Regions from separate parts of the Homo sapiens genome. Here all the other regions are linked to region 1. Evidence: promoter capture Hi-C in 16 types of primary human blood cells and fetal thymus (Javierre and others, 2016). All regions are on one chromosome and are shown on one strand. Each heading gives the region's core, a stretch centred on a gene start or on the middle of the fragment in contact. The rest is flanking DNA. Distances are from core to core; before and after follow the strand shown.

The links. Contacts are between HindIII fragments. The CHiCAGO score rates a contact against its expected background, and 5 or more counts as called.
Region 2: a fragment that was not itself captured here is called in contact with the fragment with the promoter of LRFN5 in region 1 in 1 of 17 cell types (endothelial precursors); the score reaches 5.0 in endothelial precursors.
Region 3: a contact is called between a fragment that was not itself captured here and the fragment with the promoter of LRFN5 in region 1, in 1 of 17 cell types (M0 macrophages). The highest score is 5.4, in M0 macrophages.

What each region holds. Positions count from the first base shown.
Region 1 is chr14:41,605,108-41,608,601 of GRCh38, forward strand. LRFN5 (leucine rich repeat and fibronectin type III domain containing 5) reads left to right here and starts at 1,769. Exons shown (of 6, transcript NM_152447.5): 1 at 1,769-3,455. The HindIII fragment of the contact is 1,232 bases long and covers 1,400-2,631 here.
Region 2 is chr14:44,789,074-44,792,077 of GRCh38, forward strand. The region is part of intron 2 of LINC02302 (long intergenic non-protein coding RNA 2302); the gene reads right to left. Among named protein-coding and RNA genes, the nearest start is that of LINC02302, 8.6 kb to the right of the region's middle. The HindIII fragment of the contact is 438 bases long and covers 1,065-1,502 here.
Region 3 is chr14:44,815,239-44,818,419 of GRCh38, forward strand. No RefSeq gene overlaps it. Among named protein-coding and RNA genes, the nearest start is that of LINC02302, 18 kb to the left of the region's middle. The HindIII fragment of the contact is 706 bases long and covers 1,406-2,111 here.

The DNA of each region.
Region 1 (3,494 bases), core at 519-3,018:
TTCAGTTTGCTGCAGGTTCTCTCCGTGGACTTCTCAGAAACCTCAACTTTCCACTTCGAGGGACAGAAAGCTACAAGGAAAACGCTGATGGTTTTGGTGGAGATTCTCCTGGACTTCAGTGGTGTCCTCTGGTACATCTGTCCGCGGTGTCCCTTTGGTTTATTTCTGTGGTCTTCCTGCGCAGTCCCTCAGCGGCTCGGAGTTTGGCCTTCCAGCTCTCCAACTCAGATCCTGAGCCTCCTAAGCTCCCGCGGAGACCCTGAAGTCCCGGATCTGGCGCCGCTCGCCGACCTGGAGGGAGGCTGCACCGCTGAAGTGCAGTCTCGGAGCTGCGCTCCTCTGGAACAAAGCAGCCAGACGTGGCTTGAGTGGATTCCTAAGCCAAGGATTGGATCCGGAGTACCAGGGGCAGAGAGGGGGAGCAGAGGAAAGAAAGGAGATGTGAGGAGTTTCCACCTAAAGCACTTCACTCCTCGTGTTCTTCCCCGACAGAGATAGCTGTGTGGTTCTTCCTTACGCGTGGGTGCAGGTGTGCGCGCTTGGGGTGAGCCCATGGTTGTGCTCGAGTATACGGGCGCCTGTGCACCTCCAGGGCAATGGTAAAGCCTGGCAGAGCTCTTTTTGGAACAAAATGAAGGAGCTCCATATCCACGGAGGCCACCCGTATGGGCCTTTGCCAAGTAGGGCAGAAGAAGCCCTTGTTAGCCAGCTTCCCTTTGCAACTTCCTACTCTTCCTTTGGGTACAGACTGGTGTCTGGGCTAGCTAGGATCACAGCTGAGAGCGAAGGTGCTCTCAGTGTCCGAAGACCACGTGCTGGTGAACCCACAATGAGAAGCGAAAGGGTTTCAGGACTCTAGCAGAAAGGAAGAGCAAGATTTCACTCAGGGTTTCTTAGAAGAAAGAGTTAACTTTGCTCACTGGCTTTTCCAGGATGGAGGGAGTGGGGATAGGGTCGGGGAGAGAAGCATTGGGAGTCTTGTCGGAGTCTCAAGCAAAACCAGGCGAGGGCTCCGGGCAGATCCATTCCCGCAGGGCCCTGTCTAACCTCCTTTCCAGTCGCACCTCTTTCCTGCTTTAGACCCTGCGTCTGTGCCGGTGACCTTAGAGACTAGGTCTGGCTTATGAAGACTGTTGGGCTCCCTTTCTGCCCTTCACATAGTAAAATGTGACCAACTGCAGTATTCGTAATGTCTGATGCTGAGCTGAGTTGATTCCCAAATATAAATGTTCTTTTCAGAATCCGCTCCCATCTGATTAGTAAGCAAATCACCACCCACAACTAAGGGGACAGCGGAAGCCAGCCTCAGATGACTGAAACCCCCAAGTCAGTAGCTCTCCTCAAAATTTCCGGCGGGTTATTATAGATAATGACTTTTCCCACCGCCCTAAGCAGCCGAAGCTTGACTCAGTGATGATTCTCTCTATCCCGTAACTGCGAGGAAGTGGGCGATCAGCAAATTGCCCTTTTGCAGGAGGCTGGGGACGCCCCTGGAAGTTCGCTTTCATTCTCCAGGTTTTCTGCCTTTTCCCTTCCCCCTTCCTGCAACGCCCCCGCGCCTCCTCAGCCTGGGGATTTCCTGGCGCTTCGCCGGCCCTCTCCGCAACCCCCTGATAAATCGGTTCAGAACCAGTCTGGCTGGGAGGCCCGAGGGCTGACAGCAGCGGAGCGGCCCCGGCCGGGGTCTCACGGACTCTCGGGGTCTGGCCGACACGGCCGCTCCCGTCACTGCAGCGCGGGCTGAGCTCACGGCCGCGCGCCCGCCGCCGCCGCCGCCGCCGCCTTCATGCTGCAGCGCAGGGCTCAGTTCCACGCGGCCAGGAGGCCGCCGTTGCCCACACGCGACGCTTTGGGAAGCCCAGCTCCCGGGTCCGCCCCGGCCGCGGCCGCAGCCCCGGACCTCGGCTGCTTGCCTCGCGCCTGAACTGCGGACTCGCCCCAGCGCGGTGGCCAGCGGGCGGGGCGCTGTGTTCCGCGGCGCGCAGGGAGGCGGTGAGCGTGTGCAGAGCTGCCCGAACGGAGGACTATGTATGTGTGTGCGCGTGTTTGCGTGTGTTTGAGCGTGTTTTTCCTTCTTCCCTTGAGGATGTGAATTGTTTAGCAGCTGGCTGCTCCCTTAGGATCCTTGACTTTGGGGAGCTCTGGCTGTGAACACAGCCCACCCATATAATCCATTTTGCACGGTCCGTTATATCAGAAAAAAAAAGCGCAACTGGACGGGGGTGGGGCAGACCAACGAAACCTAGACAGACACACACACACTCAGAGGAGAGAGGAAGAATTGAAAGACTTGAGAAGACTTTGATAACCTCCCTGCTGGCCCTTCTGTGTTCCGGAAAGATCCTGGATGTTGGCTACCTTTTCAAGTCATCTTGGCATGTCTCTAGTGTTTTGTAAGCCGCTTTCCAGCTAGCTGCGTGTGTGTGTGCGCGCGCGTGTGTACGCGCGCGCCTATCTGATGCATTTGACTGTCTTTTATCCAACTGCCCAGAAGCAAATGTGTTAACTCGGCGATGCCCCTTCATGCCCGGGTTCTTGCAGAGCTCTGAGGACGCCCAGACCCATTTTCCTGGCTGGATTTGGAGCGGCTGCTGGGCTGTGGACCCAGGTGTGTGGATCGCTTTACCCAGAAGCTTGGAAAGCGCCAATATTAACCTGCTTCCAGGTACATCACAAGGTCAAGAGAGTGTCTTGCAGCCCTCTTGTTTCCGTGTATCTACACCTTCTTCTCTTGGCCAGAAGGATATTTACGTTTTGGTTCACAGCATTTGAAGCCAAAAGTTCAGCCCTTCGAACTGGTTTGCTATACAAAACAAAACAAAACAAATAAGGTAATGAGGATTGCTTATTAAACTGCTTAACAAAATCCCCGACTCTTCCTCAGCCCTTTCTCGGCTCCCTCCTCCCCACCAAAATGTCACCAGCTCTTGAATTACGTGGATTCGGGTTGGAGGAGAACTTGAAGGAAACGTGATTAAAGGGCTATGCGAGAACGCTCTCTTTGCTGCCCGCGGTCCGGTGGGCTTCGAAGCCAATCGTGAGAAGGACCGGTTCCCTCCGTGCTGCTTCCTCCCCGTGCAGTGCTGGGTGTGCGTGTGCGAGTGTGAGTGCAAGTGCGCGCGCGCCCGGGTGCGAGTGTGTGTGAGTGTGAGCGTGTGTCTGTGTGTGCGTGCGCGGCCGCCCTGCCTCTGCCCGCTCCCCGGGCGCGGAGCCGCGGGTTTCATGGGGCGATTGCAGCGATTCCCCCACCCAGAGCGACCTGCGGGCAGCGGCGGCAGTGGCAGGAGCCGCCTTTCCGATTCCCTACGATGCGGGTGCTGAGCTATGGCAAAGGGCAGCGAAGTGACGAGCGAGACCCGCGTACGACTGTGAAAGCCACCTGGAGCCACCTTGCCGGGATTGTACCTGCAGGCAGAAAGTCTTCCTACGACCGTCTTTTCCCTTAGAGGCACCAGGTAACAAACCAACGATTACTCGCCTCACCCAATTTCCTT
Region 2 (3,004 bases), core at 34-2,533, 3.2 Mb after region 1:
TTCAAAGTAAAACCATTTGATTTAGCCTACTTTATAGGTCCACAGTATTTTAAGTAAATAAATGATGACAACTGTCTCTTTTATAGAACTTTATCTAAAAAAACTTACAACATATGCTTCTATAATACTTACATAGCAGATATTGTTTCAAATACCCTAAAACTATTAATTCATTCAATCTGTCTGCCAATCCTAGCAGGTGAGTGTCATTATCACTTTACAAGAAAACTAAGCAACATGAAGCTAAGTAATTTGCCCAGCATCACACAACTGGTAAGCAGTAAAACCAAGATTCAGACCTGACAGTGTGGCCTCCATACCCTGCACTTTTAACCATGATGTTATGCTGTTTAAAGCAAGTTCTCAGTGCTATGATCTCTTCAAATGAAGCATGGCTAAAAATGTGAATCTGTTATTCTACAGATATTTAACTGTGCATAAGCAAGGCACTGCCAATGACAGGTAGCCAAGGTACTTACCCAGTGATAGGAAATGAAAGACATAAATCCACAGAGACATATTTAGCACTACTGACTTGTAAACAATAGTTAAATAAGCCAAATATGTAGAACAAAAACTCCATGAGTTAAGAAGAAAAACTTCTAAACCAAGGTTATTAGCAAAGGATTCAAAGTGAGAGGGGGATTGAGGTGTCCTTGAAAAAAATGAATAGGATTTGAGAAAAAGAAAGGCATAGAAAGGTCAGCTTGAACCAAGGACATGAAGAAAGAAAGCAAAGTTCTGTTAACAGAACAGCAAATCACATCAACTGCTGGAGAAGCAGATTCACCAATATCAACAGATGGTCTAAGCATTTCTTTCTTTAAATATATAATGTTCTTTGAGTATCTTGGAAAAAGTAAGTATTTAAATTAAGCCTGAAAACAGAGTAAAATGCAAATCCATCCTACTTTTATTTTTCATTTGACTCATTGGATATCAAGGCCTTTCCTTGGCCTTTTAATTCTGTAATCTCCAAAATTCTACACAAGCAGTTTCTGTGTAACAAAGGATATCCGCATTATTATTTTGGTTCCTTTTATGTATTTGAACATCAAAATGCAAGCTTATAGTCTTAATCCCCAGTTTTGTTTTATAAGCGATTACACAAGTGTCATTTTCAGATGTGTATTAGGCTTATTCTGTCAGAAGTGGCTTAGGGAGTATCAAAATGTAGTTATCCCTAACTTTTTAATTTACAGGAACAACAAATAAAACTAAATGAACTTAGATTGCTAACAAGTTTTTGCCTATGAACAAACTGTGCAATCACAAGCTACAGACTAAAAATCTGTAATATTTTGTGGCAAACTCCCTCTTCTCACATATGTATAGATATTATAACCCCTGTGCAGGAAATGGCAGTAACTGTAGATGTGAGTTTTAGATGTGCTAATATCCATGCTGAGTGAGAATACTAGCTGTTAGATGGGCACATATCAAGCATGTGGGACCCTGATGTGTGTGAGCTGAGTGGTTGATAGGCTATAAAGGGAAGAGGAAGCTTTAAGAAAGGCTGAAAGTTGAGAAAAATAAGAATATTAAGGTCTACAAAACTATTTTGCAAAAGACTTCGTGAAAGCAAAGAAAATACTTTAGAAGCACTGGGTTCCTTCAGCATGTGCCTTGAGTCACTTTTGTCTGTATCCACCTGGGCACTTTAAATAGGGACAAGCAAAAGTGCTATGCTAAACTTTATGCACTACACACAGAATTCGGAAGTCAAACAGTCCTGGCTCTGTCACTTAGCTGTGTGATCTGGCAGGTTATTTAACTGCCTTACTCTCAATTTCCTAATCTATAAGAAATGGAAGGATATATCCCAGATTAAAAAGGCAACTAAGTGCCCAATGTTAGGAACAAGCCACACATACACACAAACACACACACACACACACACCCCCCAAGACTCATCACTGTGAAGTTCAGAACACTGATAAGAAAGATTATAGAAGGATCCAGAAAGAGAAATACATATATATATATATATATATATATATATATATCTCATAGGAGAGAGGACAGCTCCATGCATGTTATTGTCCCTGAAGACCTTCCAGTGGGACAAGACGTGGAGGTGGAAAACAAGGATATTGATGATTCTGATCCTCCGTATTTGTATTAGTCCATTTTCATATTGCTATAAAGAAGTACCCGAGGTTTGGTAATTTATAAAGAAAAAGAGGTTTCATGGACTCACAATTCCACATGGCTGGGGAGGCCTCACAATCATGGCAGAAGGTGAAGGAGAAGCAAAGGCACGTCTTACATGGTGGCAGGCAAGAGAGCATGTGCAGGGGAACTGCCCTTTATAAAACCATCAGATCTCATAAGACTTATTCACTATCACGAGAACAGCATGGGGAAAACCTGCCCCATGATTCCGTTACCTCCCACCAGGTCCCTCCCACGACATCTGGGGATTATGGGAGCTATTATTCAAGATGAGATTGGGGTGGGGACACAGCCAAACCATATCAGTATGCCCAGGCTAATGTGTGTATTTGTGTTATTTTTGTTTATTTAACAAAAAAGTTTTTTAAAAAATAATAGTAAAGAAATAAATCATTTTAAAATGGAAAAAGCTTATGAATAAGGATATAAAGAAAAAATATTTTTGTATAGCTGTACTATATTTCTGCATACCTGTACAATGTATTTTAAACTAAGTATTTTTACAAAACAGTCAAAAAGTTTTAAAATATTTTAAAACTTTATAAGGTTAAAAAAAGTTATAGTAAGCTAAGTTTGATTTATTACTGAAGAAAGAAATACTTTTTACAAATTTGGTATAGCCTAACTGTACGGTGTTTATAAATTCCACAGTAGTGTACAGTAACATCCTGGTCCTTCACATTCATTCATCACTCACTGACTCACCCAGAGCAACTTCTAATCCTGAAGCACCATTCATAAGTGTCCTATACAGAGGTACCATTTTTTATGTTTTATACCGTATGTTTACTACACATTTCCTATGTTTAGATGTACAGATACCATTGTC
Region 3 (3,181 bases), core at 509-3,008, 3.2 Mb after region 1:
ACAATGTATTGAACCAAGCTTAGCACTATATTAGGACTATGGTAATACAAACATTTTAATCTCAGTTTAAAATACCATTATAGCACAAATGTAAAAATAAAGCAAAATGGCAAGAAACTTTTAAAAAATTCTTTTATTATTTTTTAAAAAGTAAAATAAAGAAGAGAATCTAGGCAGTACTCCACAGCCTCTTCTAGACACACACATAGCTACAAATATGATTTCAATTATACATATATATATATACACACACACACACATACACACCACGCACCACCCCACACCACCATACACATACACACATTAATAGCAGCTATCTCTTGGTGGTGGATTAATAATTTTTTTATTTAGATATTTGAAAAATTTTTATAATAACTAACTATATATTACCTTGGTAATCAAATACTGAACTACCTTGGTAATCACACATGCATATTTGAAGTCATCTTGACTCCCTAAATGATACCTACTTACTCCAATATACTTATATTTTAAGTACCAAAGGATGCTCTGTATATATTGAATAAATACTGAATCAGGGACATGAACAATATAACCCTATCATAGCTTCTTGGAAAATATAATCTATCCCCTACTCTATTGTAGTAGTCCGTTTTCACACTGCTATAAAGATACTACCCAAGACTGGGTAATTTATAAAAGAAAGAGGTTTGATTGACCCACAGCTCTGCATGGCTGGTGAAGCCTCAGGAAACTTACAATCATGGCAGAAGGCAAAGGGGAAGCAAGGCGCCTTCTTCATAAGGTTGCAGGAGAGAGAGAAGCACCAGTGCAGGACAACTGCCCTTTGTAAAACCATCAGATCTCATGAGACTTACTCACTATCATGAGAATACAAAAGGAAAATTGCCCCCATGATCCAATGACCTCCCACCAGGTTCCTCCCTTAACATGTGGGGATTATGGAGATTACAATTCAAGATGAGATTTGGGTGGGGACATAGAGCCAAATCATATCATCTGTTTATTTTTCTCATAAGAATCAGAACCTCCCCTCCCAATCTCTCATCCCCTCCTCCACACACACACCAGAATCATGATATATAAGCTCTCCACTTCTTACTTACATGTCACAGAGAATTTTGGAAGACAATATCTGAGTCTGAAAGTCTTTATTAGATATTTTTAGATAGGATACCATTGAGATCCCTTCAAATTTCATTATGTGGGACTACATCAACCAATGAAGGGCCAGATTAGGCTCTTTAGAGGCCTGAACACTGAAAAGGTTAAACCCTTCACATGGAATTTTTCAAAGTGACATCAAAAAATCACACACATACTAAAATTAAAATAACCTCTGTCTAACTGTTCTACCTTCAAAGTTCAGGTTTAGAATTCTCTTTTCAGTAGTGGAGGCAGGTGGTTCTTTACTGGTCTCCTAAGCTTGCCAATAGTCCATTCACTGCCTAATCCAGCCATGCACCTAGACAGGAGACAACTCTGCTCGCCTTCTCAGTTCTGCAGTAAATTTTTGACTGCAGATTAGGGAATTGAATTACCAGCACATACTCTATTTGTATAAATTTCCCACTTCACAAAGTCAAGAAGTTTCCAAATTAGCGATAATAACATAATTTCTAAACTGCTGCTTTCTGTCTTTTGAGTTTATTTCTTTTTCTTCCTGTCTGAAGCACACAAAGCCATGCCTACAAGATCAGATATCAGTTCACATATCACTCCTCTCATTTCCATCTCTTACAAAACCATTCTTCTCATCACAAAGCAAGCTAACCAAAAGACTAATTTGGGTGCAGTTGGAATAATTTATTCCTATCTAGCTTTATAAACACATAAGTAATGAAAATTCAAATATATATGTATGTATGCATTTTAGACATTTTAAGATTTGACTGTGAATTAAGAAAGATGCTATCAAAAGAGAGCTTGCATATTGCAGGAAGCAGTTTGGTCAATACTCAAACTCTACAGAATGAAAATGAAGACTGAATCCAGCTGTCTAAGTAATCAATTATCAACAGCTAGAGGTGGGTTTGTGTTTTGCTCAGAGTTTAAGTGTTAGCAATCATAAATTCACAAGTGTCACTAGCATCTAAAGTGAAGAAGAGAGCTTTCGATGCTACTATTTAAGCTTAGTTGACAATAAGGAAAAAGAGAAAAGAAGCTTCATTTGTAATCTGAAAAACCACACATGCACAAAAGAATACATTTCTACCATTACTCTTCCACAGCAGCAGTAACCAAAGAATTTAGAACCAAATGATTCAGGAATTTAAGAGTCCATTAAATAGAGGGAAGAATTAGATCTCCAGTGCACTGCCTTCCCTTTCATTTGAAGTGAGTGTTTGTTACATGTTCTATTTAATATGAAGTGACTAAGACCCACTAATGCTTCAGGTCATCCAGGGAGGGTGCCCATCTGACACTCTCATTGTCACCTTAGCAATGAGGCAGGACTGCCAGGCAATTTCTACTTTATAGCTCTGAGATCTCTAAGCTGTACCTCCAAAAGGAACTGATAGGTAAATTGCCTCTAACCCAATCCTCTTTCATCACCAAATGCATTTCAAAATATAGTTCAGGCTTTTTTTTTCATTTAATCAAACAAAAATACTTGCAGAAACACATTAATATACAACATGAATGCTACCTTATTAATGTATAATTGTGATAGCCCAGCCTTTCATGCATATGTTTATATTGTTGCTATCAGACTGAGTCTATAAAGAGGCTGATTTTATACGTGAGTAAAAATCCAGGATCACCACCTGGTACAAAGTTAGGTGTATGCTAAACAGCTCAGCCTTTCAAAATTACTCCTCTTGCCATGAGGGTTGGAAATTTCCACCATTTAAAACTCGCTAATTCTAGGAACCTCTTTGGAATACCCTTGGATGCTATTATAATTAGTTAATAATGAATTCACAAGAATTAGTAATTAAACAATATAAAGTCAGTCATTTATAAAAATAATGTCCCATGTAGAATAAGAGTTCTAAAATTTTCGATTTGATTATGTCATTAAACCATAACAGACTATATCTTAGCGGGTTACTGCTTGGTTTGAATAATTGTGTCCCCTTCAAATTTATGTGGAAACTTAATCCCCAATGCAACAATATTAAGAGGTGAGGCCTTTAGAAGGTGATTAGGCCATGAGGGCTCTGCCCTCTGGATTTGTGCATTATAAAAGGGCTTG